Regions from separate parts of the Homo sapiens genome. Here region 2 is linked to region 1. Evidence: promoter capture Hi-C in 16 types of primary human blood cells and fetal thymus (Javierre and others, 2016). All regions are on one chromosome and are shown on one strand. Each heading gives the region's core, a stretch centred on a gene start or on the middle of the fragment in contact. The rest is flanking DNA. Distances are from core to core; before and after follow the strand shown. Region 1 holds the start of TLR10 (toll like receptor 10). Region 2 holds the start of WDR19 (WD repeat domain 19).

What was found. Contacts are between HindIII fragments. The CHiCAGO score rates a contact against its expected background, and 5 or more counts as called.
Region 2: the fragment with the promoter of WDR19 here is called in contact with the fragment with the promoter of TLR10 in region 1 in 3 of 17 cell types (naive B cells, activated CD4 T cells and total B cells); the score reaches 6.2 in naive B cells.

What each region holds. Positions count from the first base shown.
Region 1 is chr4:38,781,140-38,785,603 of GRCh38, forward strand. It overlaps TLR10 (toll like receptor 10), which reads right to left and starts at 1,851. Exons shown (of 4, transcript NM_030956.4): 1 at 1,782-1,851. RefSeq lists enhancers at 731-940, 1,003-1,172. The HindIII fragment of the contact is 660 bases long and covers 1,224-1,883 here.
Region 2 is chr4:39,180,067-39,184,583 of GRCh38, forward strand. WDR19 (WD repeat domain 19) reads left to right here and starts at 2,463. Exons shown (of 37, transcript NM_025132.4): 1 at 2,463-2,497. The coding sequence starts at 2,492. RefSeq lists enhancers at 2,132-2,311, 2,163-2,457, 2,582-2,731, 3,432-3,501. The HindIII fragment of the contact is 13,594 bases long and covers 1-4,517 here.

The sequences.
Region 1 (4,464 bases), core at 601-3,100:
TCAGGCAATACTTATGCATTATGACATTTTATAAAAACAACTTTTACATAGAGACAGGGTCTCACTATGTTGCCAAGGCTGCTCTTAAACTCCTGGCCTCCAGCAATCTTCCCACCTCAGCCTCCCAAATGGGTGTGATTAGAGGTGTGAGCCACTGTGCTTGGCCTCATTAAAGCAATTTTAAAAGTAGGACATACACTTTTTTTTTTTTTTGAGATGGAGTCTCGCTCTGTTGCCCAGGCTGGAGTAAAGTGGTATGATCTCAGCTCACTGCAAGCTCCACCTCCCAGGTTCAAGCGATTCTCCTGCCGCAGCCTCCTGAGTAGCTGGGATTACAGGCACCTGCCATCACACCCGGCTAATTTTTGTATTTTTAGTAGAGATGGGGTTTCACCATGTTGGTGATGTAGTCTATAAATAGTATATATATGTTAATATCATATCCCTACTACTACGTTAAAAGCAGGTAAAAAACAGAGAATGACCTTCCTTAATACATCTTTAATATCTTATAATTTAAAAGTCCAAGTCAAAAGACATCATCAAATGACAACTAGTGTTTTACCAAAGAATATTTAATCATCTAATTTATCTTTTCCCAATGATATAAAGAAATAGAAAAGAGATTAAGAACCTATTGAATGTTGAATGATCTTTGCAACATAAGAGTAAGAATGACTTCTTTTCAGTATTTCCTACGTGTCTGACATGGAGCTAAGTGTTTTATGTCCATTACCTTGTTTAATCCCTCAATGACTCAACAAAATGGCGGCCATTATTATTCATATTTTACAGATGGAGGAGCTAAAGCCCAGAGGTAAAGTAACTTGCCCAAGATGACCAACTGAAGAAGCAGAGATTTGAACCCAGACCTGTCTGGTTCCTTCTGGATGGTAACTAAACCCAAATGCAAGGCACCTCAAACCTTGAAATGAGGTGGCTTAAGATGTAACGACATCCTAAGGACCGAATCACTGAGGTTGAATCCATTGATCTGACCAGCTGCCATGGCGGCCACTTCCTCCTTTCTCACCCCATGCCCCTGTCTATGAAGCTTCATGCAGCTGCTGTGGGACACTCTGCTAGGTGCCACAAAGTTCAAGAGACTTTGCCTACATGTATAAATATATTCTTAGGAAAGTTATAAGTTCACAAGAATTGAAATAAAACTCGAAGTGCATCCTATTCCTAATTAATAGCTCAGTGTAGGTGGTCTGGGAGAAAGCTTATCAAGAAACCAAATGCTCACAGGTTGTTAACCATCCTCTTCTTTACAGCAACCACATATGGCCCTCTTTGTCCACTTCTGAAGGAAACGGAATAAGAACTGCATTGTACAAGATCCATCAGATCTGCCCCTACTTTTAAACAGGTAACACAAATGCAGAACTTTTCAACGGGGTAAAGGAGCAACAAATATGCCTTAAATAGCCAAAGGTTTCATCCAGCAGAGGTTAACATACGCTGTGGGGAAATAAGAGCTAGAAAAAACTTGCCACAGTGCATAGGACCGTTCAATCTGAATAGAAGAGCTGACCAGGTTTGATCCGCAATCAGTGAAAAGAAACCCACGCTCTCAAGCATCTGCAAGAAATTCCTCAGATCAATAGCCCCAAGGTCACTAATCATTAATCTAGACAAAATAGTAAATACTAAAAATCTAAATAACCCTACTTCCCTCCCCTCAATATTAGCTCAAATTATCTCCTTTTTAGAAAATACCCATGCAGCCCTTATATCTTTTTAATGAGAGTTACAACAAACAAAGCTAAGGTTCTTACCCCACGGCTTGCACTCTCTCAGCAGAGCTGCAGGTGCGTGGATGATTCGTTGACACGGTCAGAATTGGCTGCAGGAGGGAATTGAATCGAGGTTTTCTGTAAAGCTTAAACCCCATCCGCCCTCTTCTGCATGCTACTGGTATTGCATGTTATATATATTCATTATAATCTTAGCACTTTTTTAAATTGTGGTCAAATACACATAACATAGGAGTTATCATGCTCACCATCTTTCTATTTTTATTTTTATTTTTATTTTTTTTGAGGTAGGGTCTCACTTTGTCACCCAGGCTGGAGTGCAGTGGTGTGATCACTGCTCACTGCAGCCTTGACCTCTTGCGCTAAAGCCCGCAAGAGGCTGGGCTTCTCAGTCCCGCAAATGTCTGGGACTACAGGCGCTCACCAACTGGCCTGGCTAAGTTTTTTGTATTTTTTGTAGAGACGGGGTTTCGCCAGTTGCCCAGGCTGGTCTTGAACTCCTGAGCTCAAGTGATCTGCCTGTCTCGGCCTCCCAAAGTGCTAGGATTACGGTGTGAGCCACCGCGCCTGACCTTAAGCATTTTTAAATGTACAATTTAGTGGCATTAATTAAGTACATTCACACTGTTGTGCAACCACCACCACTGCCCATCTCCAAAGATTTTTCGTCATCCCAAACTGAAATTCTATGCCATTAAAAAATAATTTCCCATTTTCCCCTTCCCTCAGACCCTGGAAACTATAATTCTACTTTCTGTCTGTGTGAATTTGACTACTCTAGGTACCTCATGTCCGTGGAGTTATACCATATTTGGTTTTTTGTGACTGGCTTATTTCATTGAGCATAATGTCTTTAAGGTTCATCCATATCATTTCTATTATTATTACATAGAATAATAGAATCTTTCCTTCCTTTTTTAAGGCTGAATACTATTTTGTTGTATGTACGTCCCACATTTTGTTCATTCATTCATCCATCAATGGACATTTGGGTAGTTTTCACCTTTTGGCTCTTGTGAATAATGCTGCTGTGAACGTGGTGCACAAATATCTATTTAAGTTGGTACTTAACATTCTTTTGAGTCTATACCTAGAAGTGGAATTCACGGATCGTATGACCATTCTGTTTAATTTTTTGCAGAACTACCATACTGGTTTTCCACAGCATCTTAGAGCTCTTTGATGATGCTTTTCTTCAAGGTGCAGGTCGGTTATCCCTTTCATCAGTTGGGTGGGGCAGTCATGTGATGATGGGCAGGAGTAGGAATGGTGACTCCATAATTTCAGCAATCAGGCAGGAAGAGGGTGGAAAGGAGTTATCTAGAGCAGTGGTCCCCAACCCCTGGGCCACAGACAGGTACCAGTTCATGGCCTGTTAGGAACCGAGCCACACAGCAGGAGGTGAGTGGTGGGTAAGCAAATGAAGCTTCATCTGTATTTACAGTCGCTCCCCATCGCTTGCATTACCACCTGAGCTCCACACCCTGTCATATCAGTGGCAGCATTAGATTCTCATAGGAGCTTGGACCCTACTGTGAGCTGCATATGGGAGGGATCTAGGTTGCGTGCTCCTTATGAGAATCTAATGTCTGATGATCTGTCACTGCTTCCCATCATGTCAGATGGGACCATCTAGTTGCAGGAAAACAGGCTCAGGGCTTCCACTGATTCTACATTATGGTGAGTTGTATAATTATTTCATTATATATTACAATGTCATAATAATAGAAATAAAGTGCACAATAAATGTAATGTGCTTGAATCATCCCGAAACCATCTCTCCTCCATCTCCAAACCCGGTCTGTGGAAAAACTGTCTTCCATGAAATTGGTCCTGGTGCCAAAAAGATTGGAGACCTCTGACCTAGAGGCCTTTTCTTGAAGTGAAGTGGTAAAATAAGCATGGTATTTTTTAAAATGTAGATCGCAAAGTACGGATCAATTTTTAAAGCAACATTTTTGAGGTTTTTTTCATACTTGACTTAAGATTTAGGTGACTGCTGGAGATCACGAGTAAAGAAGAAAATTTCCAGATGGATTTGTCTACAGGAGGAATGATCAATTTAAACATGAATGATTATAATAGATTTATGTCTTATAAAATTGGGGAGTGGGTGGGTTCTTAAAATACATTTTTTAACTATCATATTGGGGTTTTTAAATTTAAAATGTAGTCCATGTATTTCCACATATATTGTAGGGGGAAATCACACAAAATATAAATAACTGTAAAAAGAAAAACAACAGCAAAACAAAACCAGCTCTGCTCCTCACCTAAACATATACAAACATGTCTATATTACACAAACGTAGGAAGACAGGAACACCCGTCAGGAACGTTGGAGAGGGGATTCCCAGCTTGTTGGATGAACTAAGCTCTAAAATCTTTTTCATTTCAGAAATTCTCAAATTACTATGATCAGCACACTCACACTGTATATTGCCCTCTCAAGGAAAAATAATCACTTGGGGTTTTTGTTGTCCAAAGACATATTCTTCCTTTCCCCAGAGACCAACATGTTTAAATACTTTATTGTCAGAAAACGGAGAAGTTTTCTTTAAGTGTTTTTACATTTGTTTACCAAAAACAAGTTGAGCCAAGTAGAGTTGTTGCTTGTGTCATCTAATCATCATCATTAAGCTTGCATTTACTTCCTAAGTGCAGATAGTATTGCACACAAGATATTGGCTAATCACCACCACAA
Region 2 (4,517 bases), core at 1,213-3,712, 400 kb after region 1:
CTGTCATAAACAACAGAAAACAACTAAGACACCAGACAGGATATACTGGATAAAAGGAATACTTGTAAGTAGTCTTTTAGTGGTATGTGGTAAGGTACAGGATAGGGCAAGTGTTCTATAGTCCTATGATTAGGCCTCAGCCTTTAGTGAGCCGGTGTGGATGGTAAAAGTCACCAGTACTTCCTTTTTTTTTTGAGACGAAGTCTAGCTCCGTCACCAGGCTGGAGTGCAGTGGCACAATCTCGGCTCATTGCAACCTCTGCCTCCCAGGTTCAAGCGAGTCTCATGCCTCGGCCTCCCGAGTAGCTGGGATTACAGGCATGTGCCACCACGCCAGGCTAATTTTTTTTTTTTTTTTTTTTTTTTGAGCAGAGTCTTGCCTTGCTCTGTCGCCAGGCTGGAGTGCAGTGGCACGATCTAGGCTCACTGCAACCTCCCCCTCCCGGGTTCAAGCGATTCCCCTGCCTCAGCCTCCCGAGCAGCTGGGACTACAGGTGCCCACCACCATGCACAGCTAATTTTTTGTATTTTAGTAAAGACGGGGTTTCACCATGTTGGCCAGGCTGGTCCTGAACTCCTGACCTCAAGTGAGCCCCCCACCTCGAACTCCCCAAGTGCTGAGATTACAGGCGTGAGCCACTGAGCCTGGCCACCAATACTTCTTTTTGCTGTTTTTTTTGACGGAGTCTCGCTCTATCGCCCAGGCTGGAGTGCAGTGGCGCGATCTCCGCTCACTGCAAGCTCCGCCTCCCGGGTTCACGCCGTTCTCCGGCCTCAGCCTCCCGCGTAGCTGGGACTACAGGCGCCCGCCAATACTTCTTAATCTCCCACACTTAAGTGGAACAGGATGGTTTATGGAGGCTGAAGTTGAGTATTTCCCTTCTCCCAGGTAGTTTAGGCTCTGATAAAACCCCAGCAGACTAGGCTTTGGTAAAAATACTTTCTCCTGAGGGCAGGTCTTGTTAAGAACTGATTGCTCTGGCTATTTTTAAATGGTTACCCTTTCAGCAGAGGAATCTTTCAGTAAAAATTTAAGTAATTAACCTAACTGTCAGAGGCGTTTGAACCAGAGCGATTCCATTTTGAGTGAGGGCTAGGAAAATGAGGCTGAGACTTGCTGGGCTGAATTCTCAGAATTTGGGCATTCCTCGCCTCTAGATGTTTACGATTAAGGGAATAAATTAATAATGTTTACTAAAACAGACCCAGATATCGGGATATCTGGAGAACAAAGGCATTCCTAATTTTGCTTTAAAGATAATAATATCAATTCCTGCAAAATAATTAAGAAAATTAATCTTTGATCACAAACCCTTGTAGCAGAGCACATCTCCCCATATATACAAGCATTGTACCTAGGGTGGATGCGTCCCTTCTCTTGCTTTCAGGAATGTCCTACTCTGTCTATGGAGTAGCTGTCCTTTCACCACTTTACGTGTTTTAATAAACTTGCTTTTCTCAGCACTGAGAACTCGCCCTGAATTCTTTCTTGCGCGCGATCCAAGAACCCTCTCTTGGGGTCTGGATCCGGACCCCTGTCGTAACGTAACTGAAAACCCCAGTGCAAAGGCATAGCACCCTACTTAAGAATTTGCAAACATTCATTATTAGTTATTTCAAATCATTGATTAACTTTCTCTAAGCCAATCAGATTCCTACCTGATGTCGAAAAGAAAAGCAAAAGGTAGACTGTTTCAACACTTTCAGACGCTTGGGTAAAAGATGCACTTTCATGCTATAAATAATGCAGCACAAATACTGTACAACAGGGCTTTATACTTGGGGAAAAGCTGCCAGATCCAAACTCTAAAGGAAAACTATTGGAGCTCATTTTTCCTGCCCACGTTAGCTAGCACATTTTGTTGACATTGAAAAAAAAAAAAGATTTTGGTGAAACTGAAAAAAAAAAAGCACCAACAACCCTACCTTGAAATAAACTATTGTACCTCTTATGCCTCCTCCCTTCTACCCCAGAAACCTGGAAGAAAAAAAGATATACCCGAGCTCGTCCAACCCCTCTTTGCGTGGACTGTATAGGAGTATTTAGCCCATCCTGCCTCCTTTAATCTAACATTCTGCGTCTTCTTTCCTTCAGCTTCTCGGCGCCCCCTTTGGCCAGCACTGACATCTTAGTCATCGCGGTCCAAAATTTACGCACGCGCCTTTGAGGGCTCACAGAGCCCGTCTCTCCCGGACGAATCTCATCCAATCAGAGCCAGCCAGGAAGCCGAGGCTCAGCAAGGCCTCGCGACGCCCAACTTCCCAGGGTTAGCGTCTCTGATGTCATGTGATTCCACCCTCCGCCTCTCACCCACCCTCGCAGAGGGCGGTGCGCTTGGCCCGGCCCCTCGAGGCACCGCCTTTCAATTAGCACTCGCTGATTGGTCGCTGCTCGCGCGGTCTCCTGGGTGACGGGAACGCGGTAGCCTGCTTGGTGGAGACCGGGTGCGCCTGCGTACTTCATAGTTCGCGTAGCGGCTCGAGCGTGGAGATGAAGGTAAATAACTTACAAATTCCCGGGGTGGGGCGGGAAAACGCGACTACTGGCCCTTGGTCGCTTTTAAAAGAGGATATCTGTCCCTCTCCCTTCTGAGTTCGTTGGAAATGAGGAAGAGAGAGAGAGAGAGAGGTGGCCAGAGAGAGCGGGGGCGAAGCTGAAGGGACGAGAGAAAGGAAAGAAAATAGGAGGAGAGGAGAGGGCGGAGAGAGAGGCCTCTCGTTTTGGGGACTGCAGACGCCGTAGAAGCGGTGCAGAAAGTGGGAACCCCTCCCTGGCCGAAATGAGCGGACTGGATCTAAAGATACCCCAGCTTCGCACGCGGAAAGAACTGGTCGAGTTAACGCGTTTGGAGGGTCGCTGTGAAGTTGACTGGGTCCGATGTCACGAGCTACCTCATTTCTTGGGGCTAAGCCTCTGGCAAGCCGCGCAGCTGCCCAGCGCCTTAAAAAGAATGAAAAGCCTCCTAAAGAATAACTTCAAAATGTATTACCTGTGACCAGTCCAATCACCTGCTAGCGAGTGTACATTATTGACGGGAAATCTGCACCCGAAAACTCAGGTCTCACGCTCATGTGCCTCATCCTCTGCACGCACGGTTTCTAGGCTTGGGCTTCTTGTTCACCCCACTTTCTGATTTATCAGAGCAGTCCCCCCTTGCTCTGCTCTGGCAAAGAAATGGAAGGCTTTTTTTTTTTTTTTTTTTTACTGAGTCTCGCTCTGTTACCCAGGCTGGAGTGCAGTGGCGCAATCTCTGCTCCCTGCAACCTCCACCTCCTGGGTTCAAGCGATTCTCCTGCCTCAGCCCCCCGAGTAGCTGGGACTACAGGCGCGTGCCACCACACCCAGCTAATTTTTTGTATTTTTAGTAGAGATGGGGTTTCACCGTGTTAGCCAGGATGCTGTCACTCTCCTGACCTCATGATCCCCCGACCTCGGGCTCCCAAAGTGCTGAGATTACAGGCGTGAGCCACCGCGCCCGGCTGGAAGGCTCAATTTTAAAATTATTTTAGATGTCCTCATGCTTCTTCGTGGCTATTAGTGTGGAAATTGGAATTGACGGACCAGTAATCATAACTCCCATTTTTATTTCTAAAGCTCTTTACAATTTATGAAATATTAGAAGTGAAGAGTTATTATTCATGATTTACAGTTGAGAATTTTTTGCTGGAGGCAATTTAAACGACTTACTTAAAGCCCTACAGCTAATAAGCTACAAACAAAATTTAAGTCTTGGTTTTTTGGTTGTGAAACTAGCAGTTTTTCCTCTGCACGGTATGTGGAGCATCTATAGAGCTCCACTGAAAAAAAATAATATGAAATCACAGCTAGAGGCAAGTCAGCCATTGAAGGTAATGAAATTCAAGTTTAAGGACTTCTCACTTGCATGAAGGAGTTCCAGGGTGAAATGGTCACAAAATTGCAAAAGTAAGATGCTTTTAAATATTCTTTCTTCATGAGTTTCTTTATGCTCTATAAAACTTTTATGTCCCATGATCATAGCCCACCTCTACTTTCAATAGAGGGGAATTTCTTCTTTAGCATGTAAAATGCTCATTGGGACAGGGTGCGGTGGCTCACGCCTGTAATCCCAGCACTTTGGGACGCCGAGGCAGGTGGATCACTTGAGGTCAGGAGTTCGACACCAGCCTGGCCAACATGGTGAAACCCTGTCTCTACCAAAAATATTTTTAAAATTAGCCGGGCGTGGTAGCGTGTGCCTGTAATCCCAGCTATTCGGGAGGCTGAGGCAGGAGAATCGCTTGAACCCAGGAGGCGGAGGTTGCAGTGAGCCAAGATCGCCCCACTGCACTCCAGAGCCTGGGCGACAGAGCAAGACGCTGTCTAAAAAAAAATAAAAATAAAAATAAACAACCTCACTGCTTTGTGTTTGGTTGTTGGTTGTTAATTTATTTATTTTGAGACGAAGTCTTGCTCTGTCACCCAGGCTGGAGTGCAGTGGCACCATCTCGGCTCACTGCAACCTCCACCTCCCGGGTTCAAGGGATTCTCGTGCCTC